2 separate regions of the Homo sapiens genome follow, and region 2 is linked to region 1. Evidence: promoter capture Hi-C in 16 types of primary human blood cells and fetal thymus (Javierre and others, 2016). All regions are on one chromosome and are shown on one strand. Each heading gives the region's core, a stretch centred on a gene start or on the middle of the fragment in contact. The rest is flanking DNA. Distances are from core to core; before and after follow the strand shown.

Region 1 (6,095 bases), core at 2,303-4,802:
TTAAGGCATTTGTAGTCACAGAATAGGTCAGCACAAAGTACAGGTCACAAAGACCTTGCTAATAAAAGCATGCGGTAAAGAAGCCAGCCAAAACCTACCAAAATCAAGATGGTGAGGAAATTGACCTCTGGTTATCCTCACTGCTCATTATACACTACTTATAATGCATTAGCATGCTAAAAGACACTCCTACCAGTGCCATGACCATTTACAGATGCCATGGCAACGTCGGAAAGTTACCCTATAGGGTCTAAAAGGGGGAGGAACTCTCAGTTGGGGAATTGCCCACCCCGTTCCCAGAAAACTCATGAAGAATCCACCCCTTGTTTAGCATGTAGTCAAGAAATAACTATAAATATCCTTAGAATAGAACAAAAGAACAATTTTCTTTACTTCTCTAATAAACTTGCTTTCACTGTACTCTATGGATTTGCCTTGAATTCTTTCTTGAGAAAGACCCAAGAACTCTCTCTTGGGGTCTGGATTGGGACCCCTTTCCAGTAACAGTTACACTTGCAAAGTACATCCTGTGTCCAACCACTGTATATTTAATTGTGAAATTTATTAAATATTAATTTAAATAAGTTGAAAGACCTTTAAAGACAGGGCAATTCAAAAATGAGTAAAATTATTGGGTTACACAGTATAAAAATCCATCAAAAAGCCAAATATTTTACTATTTGGGGGGCCTCTCAAGTACCTATTTTTGCTAGATATTGTCAGCACTTGTTTCTGTTCCAAAACATCGTATTTATACTAGGATTGGAAGTAGTTATATTTTAAGAACAAGAAACAGACACAGTAAAAGGTTATGAGATGTCAGTAGACTAAGTGCTAAAGAAATTCCAGATAGGAAGAGGAGGTATCTAGAGAAAAGGAGCTGAAAAGAAATGGGGTAGGTTGACCAAATTTTAGAGCAAGAGTTTTTAACCTGAGGTCCGTACTTATATGTCACAATGCCCCTAAGGAAAAAATTCAGCAATTGGAGGGTGTTGAAGGGGAAGTCTGTGAGTTTGGGTAGTAAAATATCTATTTTTAAAAACTTAACCTTGACTGAACTTGAACATTTCACTTTATTATGAATTTAGGCCACAAATCTCAGTACCTGTTACTTTGTAACCCAAAAGACATTAGATGTTTCATTTCTCATTACAATTGCTGAGTTATCGTGAAACATTTTTACTCCTCTAATTAGTAACAGCAATTAGGCTCACCAAATCATGTAATGTGTTAACTATATTAACAATATAACTATATAGTCTCATTTATCACTATGAAGTTTTAAAAATACTTTGATAACTGTAATTTAACTTTGTTTGGCATTTTATATACTTAAAACATCATTCTGAGATTTTCCATGTTACCAGACAGCCAAAAGTGTCTACAATACACAAGAAAAATGAGTTAACGTCTTCTTAAGATTACTTCAGAGTGGGCCGGGCGTGGTGGCTTACGCCGGTAATCCCAGCACTTTGGGAGGCCGAGGCCGGTGGATCACGAGGTCAGGACATCAAGACCATCCTGGCTAACACGGTGAAACCCCGTATCTACTAAAAATACAAAAAAGTAGCTGGGCATGGTGGCAGACGCCTGTAGCCCCAGCTACTCAGGAGGCTGAGGCAGGAGAATGGCGTGAACCCGGGAGGCGGAGCTTGCAGTGAGCCGAGATAGCGCCACTGCACTCCAGCCTGGGCGACAGAGCGAGACTCCGTCTCAAAAAAAAAAAAAAAATTACATCAGAGTTCAGTGAACAGAGGGAGGAGGCACAATTGTGCAATCTTGGCATGAGTATTCCTTATTTAGCTACAACACCAAAAGTTATTTGCACTACCGTAGTAAATAACCCTCCTTTACAGAAAACTGCCAGTCTTGCTAGGAGGCCTCAGTTTGTGTCAGGAACGCCCAATACCCTGTACTTTTCTAATAGTCATAAACATTTCTAATATTTCTAATGTACATTTCTAATACTCATCAACATTTGTTGAACCATATTATAATCCTCTATATATTTTCCCTCCTATCTGTGAGGCAGACATTTTAACAGTCTGTGTGCTAACACTTTACCTCAGATTTCTTCATGGGTTTTAAGGTTTATTATTAACTATCCTGTCAAGTTCTTCTAGGTAAGCAACTTGGGATATTAGGCCTTTCCAAATGAGCCATCTTTCTTGGGCTCCAGATAACGTCATCCCAGTATTTTACTCACTTCATTTTAAAGGAATACTTTGCAACATGCAGTAGGGTGGGTAAGAGAATGCTTCACAGCTATCCATCAGGAAAGATGTGAGTCTCTGACAGAGCCTTTGCAGGGAGGTGGACTATTGTGTCACAAAGTTCTTCAGCCTCGCTCTCGTGCAGCGGCGTCACCGCCGAGCTCTCGCAGGAGCGGCAGCTTGCTGATCAGCAGCTCGGAGTTCTGGTAGCGCCGAACGTCGCGCAGGGCCACTGTGCCGGGCACGTAGCGGCGGGACTTCTTCATGCCGCCCTGGCCCGCGTGGAACAGCTGTCTGCTAAATTCTAGCCCGGGCGATAACTCTTTTGGGCCAAAGTGCTTCAAGAACTCACGAAGCCACTGGTGCTCTGTGGACACACACTGATTAAGTTTAAAATTAAGTAATGGCCTAAGAGATTTGTTCACATCTTAACTTTTAAGCGTGGTAAAATCTGGACCACCTTCCCTCTAGTTTTTCTTTTAAATCTGCGGTGTTCGCTACACTGTTTTCAAAAAGATGGGTAATTTATGACTAGAGTCTTGTCCATGTCTCACTTTCTTTCACATGGAATAAATGTTAAGTTCTTTTAGAGAAGACGTGGGTGGCCCTGAAAAGAGCCGTTGGTTTGGACTCGATTTTACTTGAGCTGCCACAAACTAGTACAGATAGTTACTTGCCCTTCGCCTTGTGGTGGCTCTCAGTCTTTTTGGGCAGTAGCACGGCCTGAATGTTGGGCAGGACACCGCCCTGTGCGATGGTGACTTTGCCCAGCAGCTTGTTGAGCTCCTCGTCGTTGCGGATGGCCAGTTGGAGATGACGCGGGATGATGCGGGTCTTCTTGTTGTCGCGGGCCGCGTTGCCCGCCAGTTCCAGGATCTCGGCGGTCAGGTACTCCAGCACCGCTGCCAGATACACCGGCGCGCCGGCCCCGACCCGCTCGGCATAGTTGCCTTTGCGGAGCAGGCGGTGCACTCGGCCCACGGGGAACTGGAGACCGGCCCTAGAAGAGCGAGTCTTGGCCTTAGCGCGGGCTTTGCCTCCCTGCTTGCCACGTCCAGACATAGCGAGCGCAACTCACTACGAGCAACCACAAAGTGAACGGGAAAGGCGGCGCTTTTTATAAACACTATTGGGCGCGAAAAAGAAGACGTGTTGTTGGTTAGGGCTGCAGTTTAATTTCAACCAATAGTAGTGCGTCTTCTGGATTTGCGAATCCTGATTGGGCAGACCTGACCTCTGACGTTACCCTGAATAACTACCAATCAGACACAAGACTTCAACTCTTCACCTTATTTGCATAAGCGATTCTATATAAAAGCGCCTTGTCATACCCTGCTCACGCTGTTTTTCCTTTTCGTTGGCGCTTTATAGCTACACAGTGCTATGCCAGAGCCAGCGAAGTCTGCTCCCGCCCCGAAAAAGGGCTCCAAGAAGGCGGTGACTAAGGCGCAGAAGAAAGACGGCAAGAAGCGCAAGCGCAGCCGCAAGGAGAGCTATTCCATCTATGTGTACAAGGTTCTGAAGCAGGTCCACCCTGACACCGGCATTTCGTCCAAGGCCATGGGCATCATGAATTCGTTTGTGAACGACATTTTCGAGCGCATCGCAGGTGAGGCTTCCCGCCTGGCGCATTACAACAAGCGCTCGACCATCACCTCCAGGGAGATCCAGACGGCCGTGCGCCTGCTGCTGCCTGGGGAGTTGGCCAAGCACGCCGTGTCCGAGGGTACTAAGGCCGTCACCAAGTACACCAGCGCTAAGTAAACAGTGAGTTGGTTGCAAACTCTCAACCCTAACGGCTCTTTTAAGAGCCACCCATGTTCTCAAAGAAAGAGCTGGTGCTTGTATTCCTCCTCTGCTGGCCACTGACAAACCCTTGTAACTTGCTACTGTGTTTTTTGGTCTGAAGTAGAGCAGTTATTTAACTAATCCTTAGTGACTTTTTTTTTTTAGATCTGCCATTCTAATCTTAGAGTTAAGTAAGGAGATGGGAAATTTTCTATTATAAGTTCGAAACCAATTAAAATACGTTAGAAACCAATTAAAATACTCGTCGGTCCCCCGTCGGTTAGTGATTTGGAACAGTGCCAAGTTGCAGCGGTTGTCAGTTTGAATTTGCCCGGGCAACGCCCGCCCTTCCTCTGCATCCTGATTGGTTGTTGTATCCAGGAAGTCCACGGTCGGCTTGGGTGCGCCAAAGGAATCCAAACCCCGCCTTTATTTGGCCTTCCTTACAAACTCAGTAAACTGTCAGTTTCTCATTCTTTAGTATTTTATCGCTTTCGGGAAGGAGATTTATTTCTAATTAGTTTTCGTTGGATAGAGCGTTTTTTTTTTTAAAGGGACCCTTTATGGCAACATAATCAGTTTTTTTTTTTTTGAGAAGGAGACTTCCTCTGTCGCCCAGACTGGAGTGCGGTGGCGCGATCTCAGCTCACTGCAGCCTCCGCCTCCCGGGTTCCAGCGATTCTCCTGCTTCACCCTTCCGTGTAGCTGGGATTACAGGCATGCGCCACCATGCCCGGATAATTTTTGTATTTTTAGTAGAGATGGGGTTTCACCATGTTGGCTAGGCTGGTCTCGAACTGACTTCAGGTGATCCACTAGCCTCAGCCTTAAAGTGCTAGGATTACAGGCATGAGCCATCAAGCCCGGCTACAACGGAATTTGAATGCTGTAGTTTTCAGCCTGAGAAAGATCAATGCTTTATTTCTGATTAGAATACTATTTTCCCTTTATGGTATATCTATATAAGCAAAGGCATTAGAAGCCTAAACAGGACAATTCGGGGCGTAATGAAGGCAGAAAGCTTGAGGACATTTATCCCAGACTCTTTTCTGAAACAAGTCAATTTCAATTTTAAAACTCCTTTCGTTAGTATTTTAAATACTGTTTTTGACTTTGCCTAGAAGAAGTGAGGAAAAACAAGTTCCCCCTTATTCAGGTTGTCACAAATGAGAACCAGTCACCCAACAAACGATGTTGCTCTAGGTTGTAACTTCAGTCATGTGTCTCTTAGGTAAAAATCCAAGGTCTATAAAGCATTTGGAAGCTCCCACTATGACTAGGTTTTGGTTTCAAAGGTAGTAATTGTATATAAACTTGAGTTACTATCTAGTTTATTTAAAATGGATCTAAATTTAGCACAGTAATAACATCTAAAACAATTAGTATTTTTGTTAAATCCACTATCAAATACACACGTTTCCCTTGTTGACTCAAGTCCTGTTTTTTTCAAAGCCCAGTTAAATATTGCCTGCTTTATGAAATTTCTTCTGTTTTTTTAGCTTTTTCTCGGACACTTGTCCAGCCTTTGAAAACTGTCTGTAGAGTTTCTAAAATATGTATCTCTCTGAATTGCTATCTGGTTTGTTGTATATATTTCTATGTAGAAAATATACACTCAAGTTCTTTTCCTTCACCATAATCATCCCGTACTAAGGATAACTGAACTGTTATCAATTCTGTGAATAAACAGAACTTAAATTACTTTTATGACATTATTGTTATGTTACATGGGCCTCTGACCCTCTCTATTAATCCAAATAGTCAGATGATAATTTCCAAGCTAAATAACTTGCTTCTTTGTCTTACAGGATATAGAAATCAGAATAAAAAGCAGGGTTTGTAAGAAAAGGAGGATTGCGACTGACTCATGGGTATATTGTCCAGCCACAGGTGAAAATTTGTAAAGGCTAGGTTTTCGAAAACTATACAAAGTTAAGTTGAAAAGAACCCAGCTAATTCTCCTGTTACTCAGAAGACTAAACTGCCTAAGGGGTAATGAAACAAATGATCACCTTATGGGTTATTTTCATCTTGCTGGTGTCCCCTTAATAAGGACAAAGAGTTAATACTTTGCTTGAAAAACTGAATGGGACT
Region 2 (6,095 bases), core at 2,407-4,906, 980 kb after region 1:
AGAAGATATATCAGGCTCTATACCCTGGTCAGTTTCCACGGGTTGAGTAAAAGCCAGCTGTAGTGCTTGGGGTTTAACATGGGCCAAGTCCCTGGCTCTGAGTTTACTTTCTTAGACCCTCTTTCTTACTTTTAAGAATTTAGAAAATATTACTCAGGCTTTTATTTATCCGTCCAAGTACCACGCTTGCCATGTTATGGAAAATGTATCCCATAATCCATCATTTCGTGTTTGTTTATGAGGGCATGAGGACAAACTTCTAAATTCATTCCTCTTTTAGACAATGATCATCCATCCATCACTTAAATTCTCCCTCTCAGCCAACATTTGACTCCAAACCTAGCCTCATCCATCTCACATTTTTCACGTCTCAAGTATTTGTTCCTTTCCTTCTGGCCACTCCCTCCTAGTTCCCTCCCGACTCTTTTCCGAGATTCTTTTTCTCCCGCAATCATCCATTCCCCAGCAGTGAAAACCTTTTGTCATCATCCTACCTTGTGCAGCAGAAGCTACATCCTGCCAGAAGGAGGTTTTCTTTCCCTTTCTACCTCCTCCAGTCCTCCGTACTCAGGGGCATCTAGGAAAGGATAAATTGTACTGCAAAGGGGGCTTCAGTCCTGCGATAACTATTGCCTACGTGCAGTCAGGCACCTTAATGATTGACTATTTGGTTTCTGCCGTTACCCGGAGGACTTTTAACCTGAAAGCTGCCAAAAAAAAAAAAAAAAAAAAAAAAAAAAACCTATAAATTAAATGACTTTCAGAAAAAGACGGTTTAGCAAAAGAATTTTAAGGTGTCTCAGAAGCTGCTTCTTTTTCCTGCACCTCAGCGCCTAGGATCCGCCTTTCCCTGCCCCACTCGCTTAAGAGCTTCAGACAGAAACTGGCCCAATTACAAAACAAATCAGAAACCTTTGTAATAGTTCCGTGTTCAGCTCACATTGTCTTCAGCCTTTACTTGCAGTTATTACATATCTGCATGGTAAAAATTTTACAAGAAAATGGGCGGGGGTGGTGGTGGAGAAAGCTCCAAACATAAGGAAGTTGTCAAGAGCGTGCACTTTCGTGCTCAGGGCGGGCCGTCACCACACCGAGTCCCGGATCAACATCACGATCAACTTGGAAATCTGCACACGGAAACCAAAGAGCTGTACATTTACAATACTTTCAGTTTATGCTAGTGTTATGTGATACTAAATGAGCTAACGATCTAATACGTACCCATAGCACTCAATTTCTAGTACCTATTGTTATTCCCTGTAACTTCCAAGTTATTTCCTCTGCAGTACTAACGTAACATTAAAGATTGGTACTGTGGTGCTAAGTCCAATAACCCCCCTTTTGAATGAAATGATTACAACTCATTTATTGAAAACATGCGTGGCTCTTAAAAGAGCCTTTGGGATTAGGTGTAAAGATGCTTACTTGGCAAAGTTACTTGGAACTGGTGTACTTGGTGACGGCCTTGGTGCCCTCCGACACGGCGTGCTTGGCCAGCTCCCCCGGAAGCAGCAGGCGCACGGCCGTCTGGATCTCCCTGGAGGTGATGGTCGAGCGCTTGTTGTAATGCGCCAGGCGGGAAGCCTCGCCTGCGATGCGCTCGAAGATGTCGTTGACGAAGGAATTCATGATCCCCATTGCCTTGGAAGAGATGCCGGTGTCGGGATGGACCTGCTTCAGCACCTTGTACACATACACTGAATAGCTCTCCTTGCGGCTGCGCTTGCGCTTCTTCCCGTCCTTCTTCTGAGCCTTAGTCACCGCCTTCTTGGAGCCCTTCTTTGGGGCAGGAGCAGACTTGGTAGGTTCAGGCATCGTAGCGTTAATAGTTAGAACACTGTTGCAAACACCTGAGAAAATAATCACTCCCGCCGAGGCCCTGTTCATTTATAGATGCGGTATTCAAATGAGGTTAATCAGATTTCGTTTATGATTGGATTAATTTTAGAGTGTCGTCACAAATGCCAATGTAAACGACACTTAAAAGTCTACCTTTTCATTGGCTATTTCGTTCCTTTACTTGTACCCAATGAGAAAGCCCAGACCAGACTACCCGAGGCTACTATAAATAGGCCTCTTTAGGCAAGACAGCTGTGCACTTCGCTTGGAGCAGTTGGTTTTTGAGATCCGACTTTTTTAACATTGTGGTGTCAGAACTTACACCGAAAGATACTTAACAGATTAGGAGAACTCACATTCCTTTCTTCCTTTAACAAAGTATGGGACTCGTTGCATACAGAAGCCGTGCTAATTGGGACATCCCCCCCCCCCAAGTCTGTCAGTTTTACGTTTCGGCAAGTCCTTAATCCATCCAAATGCCACATTTAAGGACCAAGTATTTTTCTGCAGTGTCGGTTTCTAATTTTCAGTTATGTGGCAGTAGTCTCCCCAAGCACTTGAAATGTAGCCCTTCGGAAATAATGTCAGTACTATGCCACTTGTCCTAAGACGTACTCCTCTGAAGTCCCTCACTGCCTGCCATACTCGATAGGGATAACCAGTAGGCTTGTAACCAGCACAGAAACTGATACACTGTGCCGTGTTTGGAACTCGGAAAAACCCAGCTTAGAAACCCGGGAAAATCCCAACATTTTTTTTCCCATGCTATCTGGAGGCCAGGGCCTGCTAAAAGTGCAAAGCACAAGGGAGGCCCAAATGGGTTCAACTCCGACACTCGAGAACGCAAAATCGAGATGACGCCACTGCACTCCGGCTTGGGCGACGCGACGCCTTAGTCAAAAATAGCTCCGGAGACACACAAAATCCCACTCCTCTCCCCGACTTTGTTCCCGGGAGACCCGCCCCTGCTTAGCAGCGTTTTCCCGAGCCACGCCCCCTAATAGTGCAACAGCTCTTTTACTGAGAGCGGTGGGTGGCTCTGAAAAGAGCCTTTGGGTTGTGTTGGGCTTCTAAGCAGTTGGCCAAAGGAACTTTCTACTTTTTCTTGGCTGCCGCCTTCTTTGGCTTGGCTGCCTTGGGCTTGGCGGTCTTTGGTTTAGCCGCCTTGGGTTTAACTGCTTTGGCCTTCGCTGGGCTCTTGGGCGCCTTTTTTGGCTTGGCTGCTTTCGCCTTTTTCGGGCTTTTCGCTTTTTTGGCTCCAGCAGCTGCAGCCGGCTTCTTCGCCTTCTTTGGGGTCTTCTTGGCGCTCTTCTTGGGGGTGGCCGCCCCCGTCGCCTTCTTGGGCTTCTTCGCCGCTCCTGCTGGCTTCTTGGCCTTGGCCGCGCCTGCCTTTTTAGCCTTAGGCTTGGCTTCCCCAGAGGCCGCCTTCTTGTTGAGTTTGAAGGAACCCGACGCGCCGGTGCCCTTGGTCTGCACCAGGGTGCCCTTGCTCACCAGGCTCTTGAGACCCAGCTTGATGCGGCTGTTGTTCTTCTCCACGTCATAGCCAGCGGCTGCCAGCGCTTTCTTGAGAGCGGCCAAAGATACGCCGCTGCGCTCCTTGGAGGCGGCAACAGCTTTAGTAATGAGCTCGGACACCGGGGGCCCAGACGCTTTGCGCTTGGCCGCACCTGCAGACTTGCGGGCCTTCTTCTTCACGGGAGTCTTCTCGGCAGGGGCCGGAGCAGCGGGCGCGGCAGGCGCAGTCTCGGACATGTTGAAGGCAAGCGTGAGCGAGAGCAATTCGAGCCGGAAGCAGAGGCACTGGCCGGGACTCGAGCCGCGGCGCTGCGCCCGCCCGTTTATATAGGGCGGAGCTGCGCCGTGATTGGTGCGCTGTCCAGCCCGCCTCGCTGGCAGCCGCAGAGTGTCCTCTCGGATCCCGAGTTGTGTTTGTTACACCTCAAAAAAAGCCAAAAATATAAAAATTGTCTACACCGAACTGCCCGGTTTTTCTCAGATAATGATCCCCGAACCCTCAGGCTTCACGCAGATCTCAAATTATAAGGGAAGCACAAAGCCTTGTGCCAAAAACTTGCAATATTTCCCGCCGTGCTTGGCAAATTTCAACTCAGAGAAACAAAACTTTCTATTTTCTTCGTAAATTATAAACCGATCTTTAACTGTGGACTTTTCTGACCTCTCAAATATGATACTCCAAGTGGTTAGCTTCTTATATATCCAAAAAGCATGCCACTGGCATTAAGATTTTTATTACAAATCTGCACTTAAGTGAGGGAAGTAACACAGGCTCCTCGGAGAGTCCTGCCTATTGAGCCGAGGGCATTTGAGTTCATCAAACTGGTTTAGTTTAATGCCAAACAAATTATTGCCCATTTGAGATTAAGTTTTGGACCCCTGGGACATCAATCTATACAGCCATGGTTTTACATCTGTCCGCTACATCTGAGTTTTTAAACAATTCTTTGGATAATTCTTTCCCTTTCTGCTCCCAAGGGTTGGGGGCGGGGCTGTTGCTTCTCTCTTCCTCTGGACAATTGCTCCATGGATTGAGATACCTTGAATTCAGGGTATTTGGGAACGAAGGGAAGTCCAAAATGTACTCAGGGTACAGAGATGAAAAAGGATTAATTTTCAAATGTGATGTTCATAAAGTCACTGGAAGTGGAGGTGCACTTTACTTTAAAGCATTTGTCTGCAGCCTTGCTGAGTGCTTTTGGCATATGCTTCAGAACCAAATTGCAATAAAGTAGCTTAGAGCTGAAATTCAAGCATTGATGATAAGGCAAAATAAATAAGAAACGTAGATTGAAACATCTACTCCCATTATTAGTGAAACCCAGCCCCTATTATTACTGAATAGTTGAGGAATGACTAGTCCACTCACCACGTATGGTTTCAATCCCCCTGAAGATTGTATTCCAATGCTTCCCAGAGCTCAATAGAAAGAAAAATAAGTGACATGTAGTGATTAAACGACAAGTTCAAATTTCGATCTCAGAAGTAGAGCTTTGAGAGTCTATCTAAGCTATTATAAATCATTGCCCTCTGAAAACATCCTTTGAACAATGTCTGAGTGAATTTCTTTAGGTAGTTGCCCAATCAAGAAGAGTGTATGTAAGCTGGCAATGAAAGCCCAACCAAAAGAATTATTTCTGGTCCGGGCGCGGTGGCTCACGCCTGTAATCCCAGCACTTTGGGAGGCCGAGACGGGCGGATCACGAGGTCAGGAGATCAAGACCATCCTGGCTAACACGGTGAAACCCTGTATCTACTAAAAGTACAAAAAATTAGCCGGGTGCGGTGGCGGGCGCCTGCAGTCCCAGCTACTCGGGAGACTGAGGCAGGAGAATGGCGTGAACCCGGGAGGCGGAGCTTGCAGTGAGCCTAGATAGTGCCACTGCAGTCAGGCCTAGGCGAAAGAGCAAGACTCCGTCTCAAAAAAAAAAAAAAAAAGAATTTTTTCTGAAAAACGATATGGCTGGAACAGTATGGGTGGAACTACAAGCCACTTATCATGGAAACAAAATAAAATTTTGCCCAGTGCTATAAGGTGATATGATACTGTTCTGTGGACGTGGTTGATTGTAATATGGCGTTGGATATCATTTTAAATTTTAATTTCATTGCCCAAAATCTCCAGACACAAATTCTGCTACTGAAATAAGGAGAATATAGAATTTTGATATAACACGAGTGAAATGTATCAAAACAGTACTGTTTAATGTTGAATTTGTTATAAAAGTGATGTAAATTATCAATGTTTTTAATATCTTGATGTGTATTTTCAATCTAATTATTGCACATCAGTGCAAAAATAAATATGCCCTTTGGTATTTATTGAAATAAAAAGGGAGATGGATAAATCTCCAAAACAGACTAGGGAAACTGATTATATGGGCATTTGATTCCAGAATGGTAATATTATACCTATTTAATGACAACAAAAACCACTCCTGTAAATGACTGAAACTTACACAACACATGGAAGTTTGCTTTCACATGCCTCACTTTATCCAGTGTATTCCTCATGGCTAGGAAGGAGTTAAACTCTCCAAATTCTGTGGTCTTTCAACTTCCACTGCTTGCCTCCTTAAGGTGTGGTGTGTTTTCTTTACTTTACTTTTCTTTTCTTTTTTTGAGACAGAGTCTCACTGTGTCACCCAGGCTGGAGTGCAATGGCGCGATCTTGGTTCACTGCAACCACTGCCTCTGCCTCCAAATGCATGGGCTGGGAGAGGTGGCTCACGCCGGTA

What was found. The method cuts DNA at HindIII sites, captures the fragments that hold promoters and counts their contacts. A CHiCAGO score of 5 or more calls a contact.
Region 2: a contact is called between the fragment with the promoter of H1-4 here and the fragment with the promoter of H2BC11 in region 1, in 11 of 17 cell types (total B cells, total CD4 T cells, naive CD8 T cells and 8 more). The highest score is 28.5, in total B cells.

What each region holds. Positions count from the first base shown.
Region 1 is chr6:27,130,252-27,136,346 of GRCh38, reverse strand. It overlaps H2BC11 (H2B clustered histone 11), which reads left to right and starts at 3,552. Exons shown (of 1, transcript NM_021058.4): 1 at 3,552-4,031. The coding sequence starts at 3,597. The coding sequence ends at 3,977. H2AC11 (H2A clustered histone 11) reads right to left here and starts at 3,304. Exons shown (of 1, transcript NM_021064.5): 1 at 2,812-3,304. The coding sequence starts at 3,275. The coding sequence ends at 2,883. RefSeq lists enhancers at 2,622-3,137, 2,833-3,172, 3,138-3,651, 3,783-3,852, 3,863-3,932 and 1 more. The HindIII fragment of the contact is 7,052 bases long and covers 1-5,024 here.
Region 2 is chr6:26,153,890-26,159,984 of GRCh38, reverse strand. It overlaps H1-4 (H1.4 linker histone, cluster member), which reads right to left and starts at 3,656. Exons shown (of 1, transcript NM_005321.3): 1 at 2,870-3,656. The coding sequence starts at 3,594. The coding sequence ends at 2,935. It overlaps H2BC5 (H2B clustered histone 5), which reads right to left and starts at 1,863. Exons shown (of 1, transcript NM_021063.4): 1 at 1,378-1,863. The coding sequence starts at 1,815. The coding sequence ends at 1,435. RefSeq lists silencers at 190-484, 2,813-2,862 and enhancers at 1,483-1,532, 1,672-2,423, 3,153-3,232, 3,493-3,652, 3,177-3,928. The HindIII fragment of the contact is 19,818 bases long and covers 1-6,095 here.